5 separate regions of the Homo sapiens genome follow, and all the other regions are linked to region 3. The links are contacts of gene promoters, found by promoter capture Hi-C in blood cells and fetal thymus (Javierre and others, 2016). All regions are on one chromosome and are shown on one strand. Each heading gives the region's core, a stretch centred on a gene start or on the middle of the fragment in contact. The rest is flanking DNA. Distances are from core to core; before and after follow the strand shown.

Evidence for each region. Contacts are between HindIII fragments. The CHiCAGO score rates a contact against its expected background, and 5 or more counts as called.
Region 1: a fragment that was not itself captured here is called in contact with the fragment with the promoter of LINC02551 in region 3 in 6 of 17 cell types (endothelial precursors, M0 macrophages, M1 macrophages and 3 more); the score reaches 6.9 in endothelial precursors.
Region 2: a fragment that was not itself captured here is called in contact with the fragment with the promoter of LINC02551 in region 3 in 16 of 17 cell types (megakaryocytes, endothelial precursors, total CD8 T cells and 13 more); the score reaches 14.9 in megakaryocytes.
Region 4: a contact is called between a fragment that was not itself captured here and the fragment with the promoter of LINC02551 in region 3, in 15 of 17 cell types (M0 macrophages, total B cells, fetal thymus and 12 more). The highest score is 10.6, in M0 macrophages.
Region 5: a fragment that was not itself captured here is called in contact with the fragment with the promoter of LINC02551 in region 3 in 1 of 17 cell types (total CD8 T cells); the score reaches 5.7 in total CD8 T cells.

Annotation. Positions count from the first base shown.
Region 1 is chr11:130,478,481-130,481,361 of GRCh38, forward strand. No RefSeq gene overlaps it. Among named protein-coding and RNA genes, the nearest start is that of ADAMTS15, 31 kb to the left of the region's middle. RefSeq lists an enhancer at 1-406. The HindIII fragment of the contact is 3,878 bases long and covers 1-2,881 here.
Region 2 is chr11:130,457,220-130,460,070 of GRCh38, forward strand. The region is part of intron 1 of ADAMTS15 (ADAM metallopeptidase with thrombospondin type 1 motif 15); the gene reads left to right. Among named protein-coding and RNA genes, the nearest start is that of ADAMTS15, 10 kb to the left of the region's middle. The HindIII fragment of the contact is 4,486 bases long and covers 1-2,851 here.
Region 3 is chr11:130,860,694-130,863,393 of GRCh38, forward strand. LINC02551 (long intergenic non-protein coding RNA 2551) reads right to left here and starts at 1,417. Exons shown (of 6, transcript NR_125383.1): 1 at 1,273-1,417; 2 at 1,083-1,135. RefSeq lists enhancers at 778-1,278, 1,279-1,779. The HindIII fragment of the contact is 6,813 bases long and covers 1,076-2,700 here.
Region 4 is chr11:130,409,972-130,412,671 of GRCh38, forward strand. ADAMTS8 (ADAM metallopeptidase with thrombospondin type 1 motif 8) reads right to left here. Exons shown (of 9, transcript NM_007037.6): 6 at 1,446-1,629. Among named protein-coding and RNA genes, the nearest start is that of ADAMTS8, 17 kb to the right of the region's middle. The HindIII fragment of the contact is 2,395 bases long and covers 183-2,577 here.
Region 5 is chr11:130,352,424-130,355,185 of GRCh38, forward strand. All of the region lies in intron 1 of ZBTB44-DT (ZBTB44 divergent transcript), which reads left to right. Among named protein-coding and RNA genes, the nearest start is that of ZBTB44-DT, 39 kb to the left of the region's middle. The HindIII fragment of the contact is 1,284 bases long and covers 670-1,953 here.

The DNA.
Region 1 (2,881 bases), core at 250-2,749, 380 kb before region 3:
GAAACTGGGGAGGGAGAGGGCAGCCAGAAACTCAGCCTTCACCTTCCCCTCCCTTCAGGCCCACCCCTTCGTGCTCAGCTGGGCAGCCCTGCCTTTGTTTTGCTCTCCTGAGCTGTGGTCAGTAACGTAAGTCACGTTCCAAGCAGTGACCAGAATGTTGTGAAGGAGGAGATAAGAGTTCCTGACCTCCCGAGGCATTCCAAAGAAGAAACAGAACTATTTGTTTCCAAAGGAGAACAATTTTAGCAGAAAGGGTAAGATAGAGGGAGATGAAGAGAGGAGGGAATCTCCTCGTGAAAAACTGGATTTGGGAAAAGGGTGAAAATATTGTCATGGGGAATGGCTGGAATTTGATGAGATTTTAGCTGTACTCCTAGGCTGTTAGAAACAATTGCCTTCGTATCATTCCCCGTTCCTGTACCTAGCCACGGTCCCAGACAGTGTCCAGGGCCTTAAGCCACTGCTGTCCCAGACATCTGACCAACAGTTCAGATGACCTCAGGGGACTGGGATTCTGGCCTCAGCAGGGAGTACCCCGAATCTCTGCCATGGGTAATTGAGCAGATACTCCTGATGTGGTTTTGTTGTTGTTGAGGATTTTGAGAAAAGAGCCTTTGAGAGTGCTCTGGAAATGTGTTCAGGAGGATGACATGGCTTTTCTAAGCACCCTCCCTGGGCTGAGTCTGCAGTGCATGGGAACCTGGTTCTGAAGCTGCAGTTACACACAGCACCCAGAGCCCAGGGCTTGGGACACAGTCAGTGGTCAATGAGTATTTGTGACGCAGAGGCTTCCTTGGGAACACACAGTAAACCAAGAGGGATGAAGGAGCCTGTCTCCGGTGGAAATGTGGGGACGCTTCTCAGTGTAGGCACTGTCTGTCTGCATACATGGTCCTGTTTGATCTTCACCGCCTGCCCGGTGCTGCTGCTCCTTGCAGCCCTCTGCTCAGCTCACGCATTTCATACGCTTTCCTTGGGGATCACGTGCTATCTCACTGCTCAGTTAAAACCAACACATCAGTGGATTCTGCGTCTGCATACATAACCCTCCCACCCACCTGTGTTCACCCAGACTCCCCACCAACCCCACACAGACCACCCCAAACATCTCATTATTCATCCAGTCACATGACTTGATTCCACCTCCAGGATATCTTCAAACTTGGTCCCTTTCTTCCTTCCCACTGCTGCTGCTGTAGTGCAGGCCAGCATCATGTCTCACTGGAGTATATCCGTAGTCTGTACCTGTTTTCCCTTGTTTCAGATTCGTCCGCTTTCAATCTTTCCAGCAGGTGTGACATTTAGTGACAGCAGGTGCCCCATCTTGAGCTCTCATGGCACCCTCTGCGTCTTCTGACATTGAGCGAATTGCTTGTCCGTCTCTTTGGCTATACCCTAAAGACCTCGAGGGCAGGCTTTAATTGTCTTGGCACTAAGTGCTTGGCACACAGTAATCATATAATGATAATAGCCATCACCCAGCATTAACTATATATAAGCATTCTATTAAGGTCTTTACTTCTCTTATTGTATTTATTGTTCATAACAACATTATGAATTATATTCTATCACTGCCCCTCCTCGTGTATCAGGAAGCTGAGGATCAAAGATGTTAGGGACCTTTAGATATTCCCCCGACTTGTAAATGGCAGCATCAGGACTCCGAGCCCTGTATTTACTGAAGAAGTTGTAGAATGAACCGCTTAGCCTACTCCTCGAGAAACATTTTTTTGGGGGAGATGGACATGAGAAAATGATTATGATGGCGCATGAGAAGTGCTCCAACAGAGGTATGCTTCTAGATCTATGGGAATTATACACGAAGCAATTGCAGGAATCACTGAGTGGACCTGGGAAGGAGTCAGAGGAAATGATGCTCTTGAGCTGAGTTTTGAAGAATGAATAGAATTTGTTGGGCAGATAAGGAGATTCCTGGAAGTGTGGCCAGCACGTACGATGGCATGGAGGTCAGGAATGAAAACAGCTTGATGTGGCTGGACTGTAGAATACATGAGAGAGTGGTGGGCTTGAAGCCTAGGCTGGGCTGGGGTCTGATCATGGAGGGCCTTCTATGTTGCATTAGGGAGTTTTTGCTTTGTTTGACAGGCAGCAGAGAGCCATGGAAATATTTTAAATCAGACTGTAATTAGCTCACCACTCCAGTGAGCTGGTAGTAAGCATGGACTGGGATAGGAAAAGACTGTTGGCAGAAAGACCAAGTAAGAGGCTCCTGCAATAATCCAGATTTAAGACCATGAAAGCCTGGCAGTGTAAGTGGATTGGAGAGGATGACATAAATTCTAGAAATATCTAGGAGAAGTATGAGCTGGTCTTGAGTGCTAACCGTGTGCAGCGTATGACAATAAAAGCAATGTCAGAGGAAATGCAGATTAATGTTTTCCATCTCAACGACTTCCTTGCTTTACAAAAGAAGTATAAAATTAGGCCATTCCTTGACTCAGAGATATGAGCATGCAACAAGGGCAGGGGAAAGGCGGATGTACTTGACTTCCTCTTGGGATTAAGTTTCTAAAATATGGTACTGCCAGGATTCAGAGGGATGAGATGACTGATGGTTTCTCCTGTTGCTCTCACTTCCAACCACGCCTCCTTACCCACTGCCTTAGTTCCTGGCATCACATCCCTCAACCTCCAGCCTTAGTGTGGTGTGGTTAGCATGGCACCAAGAAGACATGGGCGAGTGAAAGGAAAAAATAGAGACCAGAAAAAACAACAGAGATAGTTCACGTACACTAGTGTGAAATCAACGATATGGTATTTCAAATGTACTTTAGCAGAGGTCGTAGAAACAGATTTATTTTTTAATATACCCCCTGTATCTTTCAATTAACTGTACATTGTGCATAATATATTTCAATAC
Region 2 (2,851 bases), core at 85-2,584, 400 kb before region 3:
GACTCAGTCTCAAAAAAAAAAAAAAAAGTTAATGTGCTTGATTTTTGTGCATCCCTCTGTCTTTGTACTGCTGGAAAACATTGAGCATCTTGGTACATGCCTGGGAAATGAGAAGAGGTAGGAAGGTGGTTCACAGGGATGGCAGCTGGTGGGAATCGTGGTGGAGGTGTGTATGGAGTGACACTGGTAAACAAGCTACTGTCAGATGTTATCCTTGTTTATTTATTTAAGGTGTGGCTCCAATCCTAAATTATTTTATAAGAAGGGACAGTTAGAAAATAACAGTCCAGGAGGATTAAGGTTCCTGGCCAAGATGATTCCAGGATCATCTGGAAAAGTGGCTGCAGCTACAAAGAAAAACAGCCAATTGCTGGGAATCGTGAGGCAGGTAGGGGCTGGGTTAGGAATACCTACACCTTCTGGGAGGAAGAAGGCAGAACAGCTTCTGTTTTTTGGAGGCAAGCACTTGGGCTGAAGAGGTTAAGGCAGTTTTAGTGCCTCTGAGTTCATTCCAGAAGGGTGGAGATTTTTGATGCCACAAAGGAGGCACTGCTGGGCCCCTGTATAAGCACTCGTAGGCGTTCAAAGTGCAGAGGCCCAGCGGTTCTTCATTGAGTCCCTGCCGGGGTGGGGAGGAGGACAGGCAGAGCTTCTGACCCCATACAGCTGTGTCTTCCCACAGTGAAGACGCTGGTTACTGCAAGACGGCTGCTTCCAGAGCCACTCTTACCCTCAGGAAATTTGCCGGCTCTTTCCTTGTTCCTCTCATTTGATCCAGGGAAACCGGGACTTCTTGATGGAAAGAACAGGTTGCTTCTGGCCAAGAAGGGCCTGCAGCTGCATGTCTTTGCTCCAGAGAAAATCCACCCTCCCTAGGAGGAAGGAGGCTTTTGGCCGTAAGGACTTCCCAGCCACAGAGGCGGCTGCGGGGTGGCTGAGTTCCAGACGCCCTCTAGATCCCAGTCTGAGCATTCAATCTGGTCTAGCGGTTTCTTTCTTTCTTTTTTAAATTTTAATTTTTGTAGAGATGGGGTCTTGTTACGCTGCCCAGGCTGGTCTTGACCTCCTGGCCTCAAGTCGTCCTCCCGCCTTGGCCTCCCGAAGTGCTAGGATTACAGGCCCGAGCCACTGCATCCTGCCTGGTCTAGGCATTTCTGAAGAGCGGGGCCGGGGAACAGGACTCTGAATCTCCACGTGGGTGACTTCCACTTTTCTGAGAGCGAGTGCTGTCAACTACATGACTTGGGTCAGTAGACAAGATGTTCCTTGGGGTTCTAAAAATATGTCATTCTGTGGGTTCCCTTTATAACCTACAGGGCCAGAAGGGGCTGCATGCTCTGGGACTGGGGAAGGAGCAGAGGCTGAAAGCACTGGTTGATTCAGGCTCTAGTTGAAAGTTGGCCCTTCCCCAGAGCAGGAAACCAAGGCCCCGAAGAGAGAGGACTTGGATAAAGTCACACATCTACTTAGTGATAGGGCCAGGACCGGAATCTAGACTTCTTGATTCTTATTTCTGCGCCCTCTCCCTCTTACACAGGGAGCAGTGAGTGTGCAGGGCAGCCCAGAGGCAAGGGTAGGTGCCTGCCCCCGCAGGCTGCAACTGCTAGGCTAGAATGTCCAGAGCTCCAGCCTTGCTGGGTCCTACACCACACCCGTCCTACACCTACATCCTTCACTATGCCCTTGCAAGAGCCTTCATCCCTGCCCTCATCTTGGCTCCCTTCCCCACAGTTCACACGCTGATCCATGTTTCTCAGCTGTCACATTCCCTAAACTGCTGGTCGGGTGAAGGTCCCCTCCCAAGTGTTTTTTTTTTTTTTTTTTTTTTTTTTGAGACAGAGTCTTGCTCTGTCACCCAGGCTGGAATGCAGTGGCGTGATCACGGGTCACTGTAGATTACCCTCCCAGGCTCAAGTGATCCTCCTACCTCAGCCTCCTCCTACCAGCCTGGCCAACATGGCGAAACCCCATCTCTACTACAAATACAAAAATTAGCTGAGCATGGTGGCAGGTGCCTGTAATACCAGCTACTAGGGAGGCTGAGGCAGGAGAATCGCTTGAACCTGGGAGGCAGAGCTGGGATTACAGGTGTGCACCATCATGCCTGGCTAATTTTGTTTATGTTTTGTAGAGACAGGGTCTCACCATGTTTCCCAGGTTGGTCTTGAACTCCTAGACTTAAGCGATCTGCCTGCCTTGGCCTCCCAAAGTGCTGGGATTACAGGCATGAGCCACTGCGCCCAGGCCCCTCCCAAGTTTTGACAGTGGTTGTTTTCTAGGTTTCAGAGCTCTTGGGAAGGAAAACTTTCTGGGAGAGTGGGTCTTTGAAGACGAAAGAATATGGGAAGAGAAGGGCATTTGAAGTCCTCCATGGGGCTCCTAGAAGTGGAGGTAGTGCTTCCAGCAAGCACAGGTGGCAGACCTGGCTGGGTGTGCAGGGCACACATCACTGCCTCTGGTGCACCCGGGTTCAGGCTGGTCACCCTCGGAATAACTGTTCACTCATTAGGAGGTGTGACTATCATCTGACCGTGGGAAGCCAAGTTTGACTGCTCAGGTGGTAAACCTCTGAGTGCTTTGGATTAAATTTTGCTGATTTTCTGTACTCTGACCGCTTTTCCTCCCATGCCCCCTGGCTCCTGGCTCCCTGCGCTGTGCTGCTGCCCACCTTCGCCCCTTGCCAGCATGTACACAGATGCACATGTGGCCTTGCATATACGTGCACATGCATGCAGACACATGCTTCTTTGCCTGTGGAAGGTGGTAGTAATAGTCGTTATTTCAGTGGGATGTTGTGAGGATTAAATAGGGCTGTGTGTGCAAAGTGCATGCACAGTGTCAGCATTTAATA
Region 3 (2,700 bases), core at 167-2,666:
TGTGAAAAGTGCCATTCTGTATGTGACATGGACCCCTAGCTTTAGACCCTACAGATCACAGTGCAGTGTCTTTCACAGAGTGAGTGTGCTGGGTACTAGTGATACTAAGCTGGGTGATAAACCCTGCTAGAGAGGTGCGGCCTGCATGGAGTGGAGAGTGTGTGACAAGGTGAAGCAGCCCAGACAGAAGTGCCAGCACCACCATCCACTAATTGGGTGACCTCAGCCATGCACCCGAGCTCTGGGCCTCATCTTTCCCATCTATAACATGTGGGCATGTACCTTTGTTTTGGCAAATAAATGACAATATATGCTTTTAGAAACTGGTGGCTACTAATCTTATGTAAAGAATGTGTGTATTTATCTTGCCAAATAAATATATGGTTGCTCTTCAATTTCGGATCATGACAAGTCGATATCATAACGAATTTGTTGTATTTCTTGGTCAGGGAAGAAGGAGAGAGAAAAAAACCAGTGCCTAGTGATGACGCCAAGTCAAGGTAAAACCTGGCCAAGGGTGGACCTGGCTCCAGTGTCTCTTCCAGTTCTCCTTCACCCTGGGGATTACTCATTTATCTCTATGAATGCAGATTTATGGACCTATAAATGAATATATGTGTTAGGGCCACCATTGCTTGTTGTAACTCCACAAAGCATGTTGACCACAAAACCTATTGAGGGCCATAGGGGCCCAGCCTGCAACGCAGCCCATCTGCTCCCTGCATCCTCATCCACCGCCTTCCTTACCACCGCCCACCCACATGCCAGCACTGCCGCGCGGCCTCTGCTCCGGCCGTCCCTTGGCCTACACTGCCTTTTCCTAATCTTTCCCAAGTTGACTCCTAACACCTTTTAAGACTGCCTAGAATCACCGGGAAGGCTTCGCTGGCCCACCCCTGCCCGCCCAGCTTCCCCAGGCTGGGGGAAGTCCTTCTTCTGGGGGCTTCCGTGTGCACCTCTGTGCCTCCACGTCCCTCCTCACACGGTGACTTTCCGATGATGCGCCTGCCTCCCCTGTCCATGGATAATGAATTCACCCAGGACAGGGCTTTGTCTTTTTCATTCCTGAATCCGAAGCTTACCTGCTACTAGAGAATTTGTGAATTTCCGTTGAACACGTGGAAGACCTAGGAAGCTGTGGGGGAGAAAGAATGAATGACTTTCTTCAAGGCCTCCTGGCAAAGCAGCAGTGCAGCGGGAACCGGAGCCGGAGGACGCTGGCTCCTCACCTAGAGCCCTCCCTTGGGTCAGGGTGGCTCTTCTCTCCCATACCTAGCGTCCGGCGCTTGGCTTTGTTTCCCGGAGTGGGTGGCACTGTTTGGCCGCCACAGGCACAGCATCGCCCCTAGGCATCGCCCTCCGCACCCGGGGATGCGGCGTCCCCAGCCTTGCCTTTCTTGATGGCTAAAGCAACAGCGCCACCTTCCGGCCTCAAGGCCACCGGGCGTGGCCGGACTTGGGAGACCTTGGGCGCCCTCTTGTGGAATTTCAGAAGTTGGGCTGCGAAAATGACTCCGTTATCCCCAGCTGACCATGAGGCCCGCTGGGCACTTCCACCTCTGAGGTTTGAGTGGTTCAGTGGGCCTGTGCAGGGAAACCCAGCCTAGAAAGCAAGCCTTTATAGCTACCTTGGTGTAGAAGATCAGAGGCATATGAGGTGAGAAACAGGTGACATGTCACGCTCCCTGGAGACAAAATGTCCAGAAAGCTCCTCTAGGCAGCAAATAAAGAAGTTATGAAAAGGAACCGTGGAGAAAAAAGAGGTGAAGGGAAAAGAAAGGGAATGTTATTCTGACCCACATGCCTCACCGCCAGGGCTGAAGTCACTACTAACAAGGCCATTTAGGAAGAGCAGGCTGGAGTTGACAGCCTTTCCCCAGGAGTCCTCTGGTTTCCAGGTCCCCCGGTTTGAAGCACTCAGGAACACACTCAGCCCCTGAATCTTCACTCAGTTCCGTGGTGTTACTGGCAATCGTTGGATATCCCTGGCTGGGGCTCAGCCTCAGCTCCGGTGTCAGCTACATAAGAATCTCAGCATCTTGGGAACGTGAGCTCAACTTGAAATACACTTCCCTGAAAGGATTACTTTGTTTTGGGACAAGGCTCATATCAATCTGTCCTGCCAAGAGATTACTGCTGTTAAACTGTTGGTTTTCACTGCTGTCAAACATAATCTTACAAGGAGAGAGAGGGGCAATCACCCTCAACACCCAGCTGCAAGAGAAGACTTTTGACTGGGCAGGACTTTTCCTGGCACTCTCTGGAGAATAAAAAAGGAATATGTAGAATGGCTGTTGTGTGATTAATGCTTACACCCACAGTGCGGCTGAGCCATTCCCAGGGGTGCACTGAGTGGGATCCCTCTACATGCAACGACCCTGCTGGCATTTCACAGGTGCCTGTGGAGAAGGCCCATTGAAGACCTGGGGCTGAAAGTGCAGCTCAACTTTGCACATATGCTTGGATTTCCTCTCTATTCCAAGGCAGACAGTCCTCAGGGTTTGGCCTAACACACAAAGGATGGGAAGAATAAAGAAACGATGTTCCAACAGTATTTCTGCAGATCTAAGCTACTGAAGGGATGCTGGACCAACCACGATAGATGCTTCCTTTTCCGCAGTGCCTCGAAAAACACTTAGGAGTGTGAAGGAGTGAAATTTTATGCTATTGGCCTTGTTCTCATTTACTTTTGATTATTAT
Region 4 (2,700 bases), core at 130-2,629, 450 kb before region 3:
CCCAGATACTGTGTCAGCCTTCAAGGACCTCTGTGGTCTGGCCTTGACATAGTGGTGTGCTTTGCTTGATTCCACCTAAGTGAATGAGGGCCCTTCTCACACCTTTCCACCACCCTGGCAGGTCCCCTCACACCTCACCCATCTCAGTCCTCCAGACTCTGCTCAGTCCTAACTCCTTTCAAAGCTTCCGCTCACCCAGCCTTTCCTTTCTCCGAGCGCCTCACCAACCTAGGGTCTGTGACTCATCCATTGAAATGTAATGGCTGTGTTAAAGGGATTTGGGTCTCTAATTGGACTACAAGCTCCTTAGGGACAGAGACCATGCCTTTTACATTTTCATACATTTTTATAGTTCTAGACACACAAAAAATACTAAAAAATACTCGACAGTAATGGCAGACTTTGGTGCATCTGACATCATGGCATCACTTTTCGTCCACACCTACCTTGCACCCTATATTCATTCTCATCCTCCCCCTTTCCCAGCAACGTCTCACCCTGTATGCCAGGCAAACTCTCATACAATTCCAGGGCAAAGTTTCTAGAGCCTCAAACCATTGTGGATCCTTCTTGTCTTGTGAAACCGCAAAGCCTACAGATTCTCCTGAGACATCAACCCAATGCCAGTGTCTTTTCCCGTGGTTGAATCTCTCCTAAGGCTCTGCCTGATTTTTCTTGCCTGCCAATCCTTCCTGGAGCTGCACACTGGGCAGTTGGATGGGATGGTGGGGAAAAACCTTGTAATGATTTCCCTCTCACGAGTTTGCTGCTGCCCCTTTACTGCCTCTAAGTTAATGTTCATGGTTTCCAGCAGGTACTGGGGATAGGAATATGCCAAGGGGAGGGAGAGGTAGTATTCCTTCCTGGGAAGATTCTGTCAAACAGTTGCCATGTTCCCAAGGGAAGATGGGCAACTCTTCTCAGAAGGAATGTGAACAGGAATCAGATTCAGAAATCCTCCCTCTGCCCTGGGCTGAATTTTGGCTAGAAAGACCTTGGAGGTTTGGCTCTGACACTTGCTTTGGAAAATGCTTCCATTCTGCACACAGATGAGGGTTCCTATGCCTCCAGGAGGATTAGTTTCCTAGACACCAGCCCCTCTGCAGAGGCTCCTCCCCAATAAGTTTGGTTGGGAGTGATGTCCTCCTCTCCACATCTTGGAAGATGAGCGTAATTTCTCTCCTTGACTTTGCCAGGCTCTCTGAACACTATGAGAGCTGTCCCGGGTCCCTGAGAGCTGCCCCTGGGATTGGAACCTTGCAGAGCCCATTTAGGTGGAGATCACAGGCAAAACTCTACATCCCAGGAGACCCAATTTACTCCCCTCTGGGAGTAACTCTATATCCCGGGACACCCACTTCACTCCCACTTTACACATCCTCTGGGGATGCGTCATAGCAATGATAGTAGCTGCTCTGGCAGGGGCGGCCCTGAGTGGTAATTACCGTCAGGGGGGCATTCCTCCGTGTGGCATGACTGGTACTTGGCTCTCCGACCCAGGCAGTATCTTCCTCCATTCTGAGGCTCGGGGTCCTTGCACTCACGGTGTGAAAACTGTACTCCTCCTCCACAGGTCCGAGAACATTCTCCCCAGGGTCCCCACGGTGCCCAGCCTCCATCTGCCACGGGCTGCAACATACAATGGCACACTGAATGAGGAGCAAAGGCCAGGAGGCTTCAGTATCTGTGTCACTGGGTGGCCAATGCCCTGGCTTCCTCATCTAGTCATTATCATCTTGGTGCATGGAGTGCCGTAAACTGCCTCAATCATTTGTTTAATGACTGTGTGGCCTGCATGGCTTTGTGAGCACAGAGACCAGGCTGGACTCATTCACTACTGACTCCTCAGTGTCTAAAACAGTGCCTTATGCTTAGTAAGGTGCTCAATAGGCTATCTGCTGAATGAATGAATGACACCCTTTTATGGGAATAAGGTTGCATATAATGCAGTGGTTCTCCGTTGGGGCGAATTCTGCCCTCCAGGGGACATTTGGCAATGTCTGGAGATACTCTGGTGGCTACAGCTGTGGAGGGTGTACGTGACCACATCTAGTGGGTAGAGGCCAGTGATGCTGCTCCACATCCAGCAATGCACAGGCCCCACGGTAACAATTATCCAGTCCTAAGTGTCCCTAGTGCCAAGGCAGAGGAACTCTGGTCTAAAGGAAACATCCCTGCGAGGTGTTGCCATAGTCTACCAGCCACTGGTTCTGGTGATAGGACAATGCTTGGGAAAGAAACAGAATTGCTTCCTTTTTTTTTGACAGAGTTTTGCTCTGTTGCCAAGGCTGGAGTTCAAAGGCGTGATCTCGGCTCACTGCAACCTCCGCCTCCTGGGTTCAAATGATTCCTGTGCCTCGGCCTCCCGAATAACTGGGATTACAGGTGCACACCTCCACGCCTGGCTAATTTTTGTATTTTTAGTAGAGATGGGGTTTCACCATGTTGGCCATGCTGGTCTTGAACTCCTGACCTCAAGTGATCAACCTGCCTCGGCCTCCCAAAGTACTGGGATTACAAGTGTGAGCCACCATGCCTGGCCCTGCTTCCCATTTTACAACTGACCTATGAGAACAAAGCTTTGCCCTTTGGAATGCTGTATGCCCAAAGGTTCATAGAGTATTCAAAATGAAAATAATTTTTTAAAAGTTATAAAAGTAATAGTTGCTCATACGACAAATAAAAAAATGCAGAAAAGTG
Region 5 (2,762 bases), core at 62-2,561, 510 kb before region 3:
CGTGTGTTTATTGACCAATTGTTTATCTTCTTTAGAGTAACGTCTATTTGAGTCTTTTACCTACTTCAAACAAATTTTGTTGTTATTGTTGAATCGTAGGAGTTTTACGAATAAGATGTATTCTGGATATTAATCCCTTCTCAGTTACATGACTTACAAATATTTTCTCCTTTTCTATGGGTTGCATTTTTGCTTTTTTCGTAGTTTTCTTTCTTTCTTTCTTTCTTTTTTTTCTTTTTCTTTTTTTTTTTTTTTTTGAGATGGAATCTTGTTCTGTTGCTCAGGCTGGAGTATAGTGGTGCAATCTCAGCTCACTGCAACCTCCACCTCCCAGGTTCAAGCAATTCTCGTGCCTCAGCCTCCCAGTATCTGGGACTACAGGTGCATGCCACCACACTTGGCTAATTTTTGTATTTTTAGTATAGATAGGGGTTTTACCATGTTGGCCAAACTGGTCTCGAACTCCTGACCTCAGGTGATCCACCCACCTCAACCTCTCAAAGTGCTGGGATTACAGGTGTAAGCCATCTCACCCAGCCCTTCATAGTTTTCTTTGATACACAAAATTTTTAAATTTTGATGAAGTCCGATTTATCTATTTTTTTTTCTTTTTTTGCCTGTGCTTTTCATGTCATATCCAAGAATTCATTGACAAATCCAATGTCATGAAGCTTTCCACTATGTTTTCTTTTCTTTTTTTCTTTGAGACGGAGTCTCACTCTGTCACCTAGGCTGGAGTGAGGTGGCGCAGTCTTGGCTCATGGCAACATCCGTCTCCTGGGTTCAAGCAATTCTCCTGCCTCAGCCTTCCAAGTAGCTAAGACTACCATGCCAGCTAATTTTTGCTGGCATATGCTACCATGCCAGCTAATTTTTGTATTTTTAATAGAGATGGGGTTTCACCAAGTTGGCCTGGCTGGTCTCAAACTCCTGACCTCAAGTGATCTGCCACTCTTCGCTTCCCAAAGTGTTGGGATTACAGGCATGAGCCACCACACCTGGCTCACTATGTTTTCTTTTGGGAGTTTTATAGTTTTATCTCTAATGTTTAGACTTTTGATCCATTTTGAGTCAATTTTCGCATATTGTGTAAGATAAGGGTGTAACTTCATTCTTTTGCATGTGAATATCCAGTTTTCCCAATATCATTTCTTGAAAACACTACTTTCTCCATTGAATGGCCTTGGCAACCCAGTTGAAAATTGTTTGATTGTATGTGCAGCAGGTTATTTCTGGGGTCTCTATTCTATTCCTTTGGTCTGTAGATCTGTCTTTATGGCAGTATCACACTGTGATGGTGTAGCACCATCAGAAAATGTGAGTTGAAAAATTTGTTATTTTTCAACATTGTTTTGGCTATTTGGGGTCCCTCGAGGCCCATATTAATTTTTAGGATGGATTGTTTTTATTTCTGCAAAAAACATTATTGGGATTTTGATAAAGATAGCATTGAATTGCTTTGGGTAATATTGACATATTAATTAAGGCTTCCAATCTATGAACATGGGATGTTTTTCCATTTACCTTTCGTTTCTTTCAGCAGCTTTTGTAGTTTTTCAGTGGACAAATCTTTCACCTCCTTGATTAATTTTATTCTAGGCATTTTATTCTTTTTGATGTTATCATAAATGCAATTGCTTTCTTAATTTCTTTTTCAGATTGCTCATTACTAATATGTAGAAATACAACTGATTTTTGAGTGTTGATTTTGTATCCTACAAGTTTTATGAATTTGTTTATTAGGTCTAACTGGTTTTTGGTAGAATATTTACTTTTTCCTACATTTCAGATTATGTCATCTGTAAACACAGATAATTTTACTTCAGTTGATTCAGTTTGGTTGCCTTTTATTTCTTTGTCCTGCCTCGTTGCTCTGGCTACAATTTCCAGTTTTGTTTTGAATAGAAGTGGCAAAACCAGGCATCCTTGTCTTATTCCTAATCTTGGAGGGAAAGCTTTTAGTCTTTTAGTATCAAGTATGATGTTAGCCATTGGTTTTTAATAATAGCTTTTATCAAGTTGAAAAGATTTCCTTTTATTCCTAGTTTATTGATTTTTTTAAATCATGAAAGGGTGTTGAATTTTGTCAAATGCTTTTTCTGCATCAATTGAGATGATCATGTGGTTTTCTTCTCCTTCATCCTGTTGATATGGTGTATTATACTGATTGATTTTTTGTGTGTTGAACTGTTCTTGCATTCTAGGAATAAAACCTACTTGGTAATGGTGTATAGCTCCTTATTAATATGCTACTGAATTTTTTGATAGTAGTTTGTTGAGGATTTCTGTGTCAATATTCATAGGGGACATTGATTTGTAGTTTTCTTTTTGTGTAGTGTCTTTGTATGGCTTTGATATGAGGGTAATGCTGGCCACATAGAATGAGATTTGTAAGTAGTTTCTTCTCTTCAATTCTTTTGAAGAGTTTGAGAAGGATTGCTATTAGTGCTTCTTAAGTATTTGGTAATATTCACCAGTGAAGCCAACTGATCCTGGGCTTTTTTTTTGTTAAGATGTTTTGATTACTAAGGCAATCTCCCTACTAGTTATAGTATTCTATTTCCTATTTCTTACATTTTCTATTTCTTCCTGAGTCAGTTTTGGTAGGTTGTGTATTTCTAGGAATCTGTCCACTTTATCTAGGTTACCCAGTGTGTGTTGGCAAACAGTTGTTCATAGAATTATCTTATAACCTTTTTCATTTCTTTCTTTTCTTTCTTTTTTCTTTTTTTTTTTTGAGATGGAGCATCACTCTTGTCGCC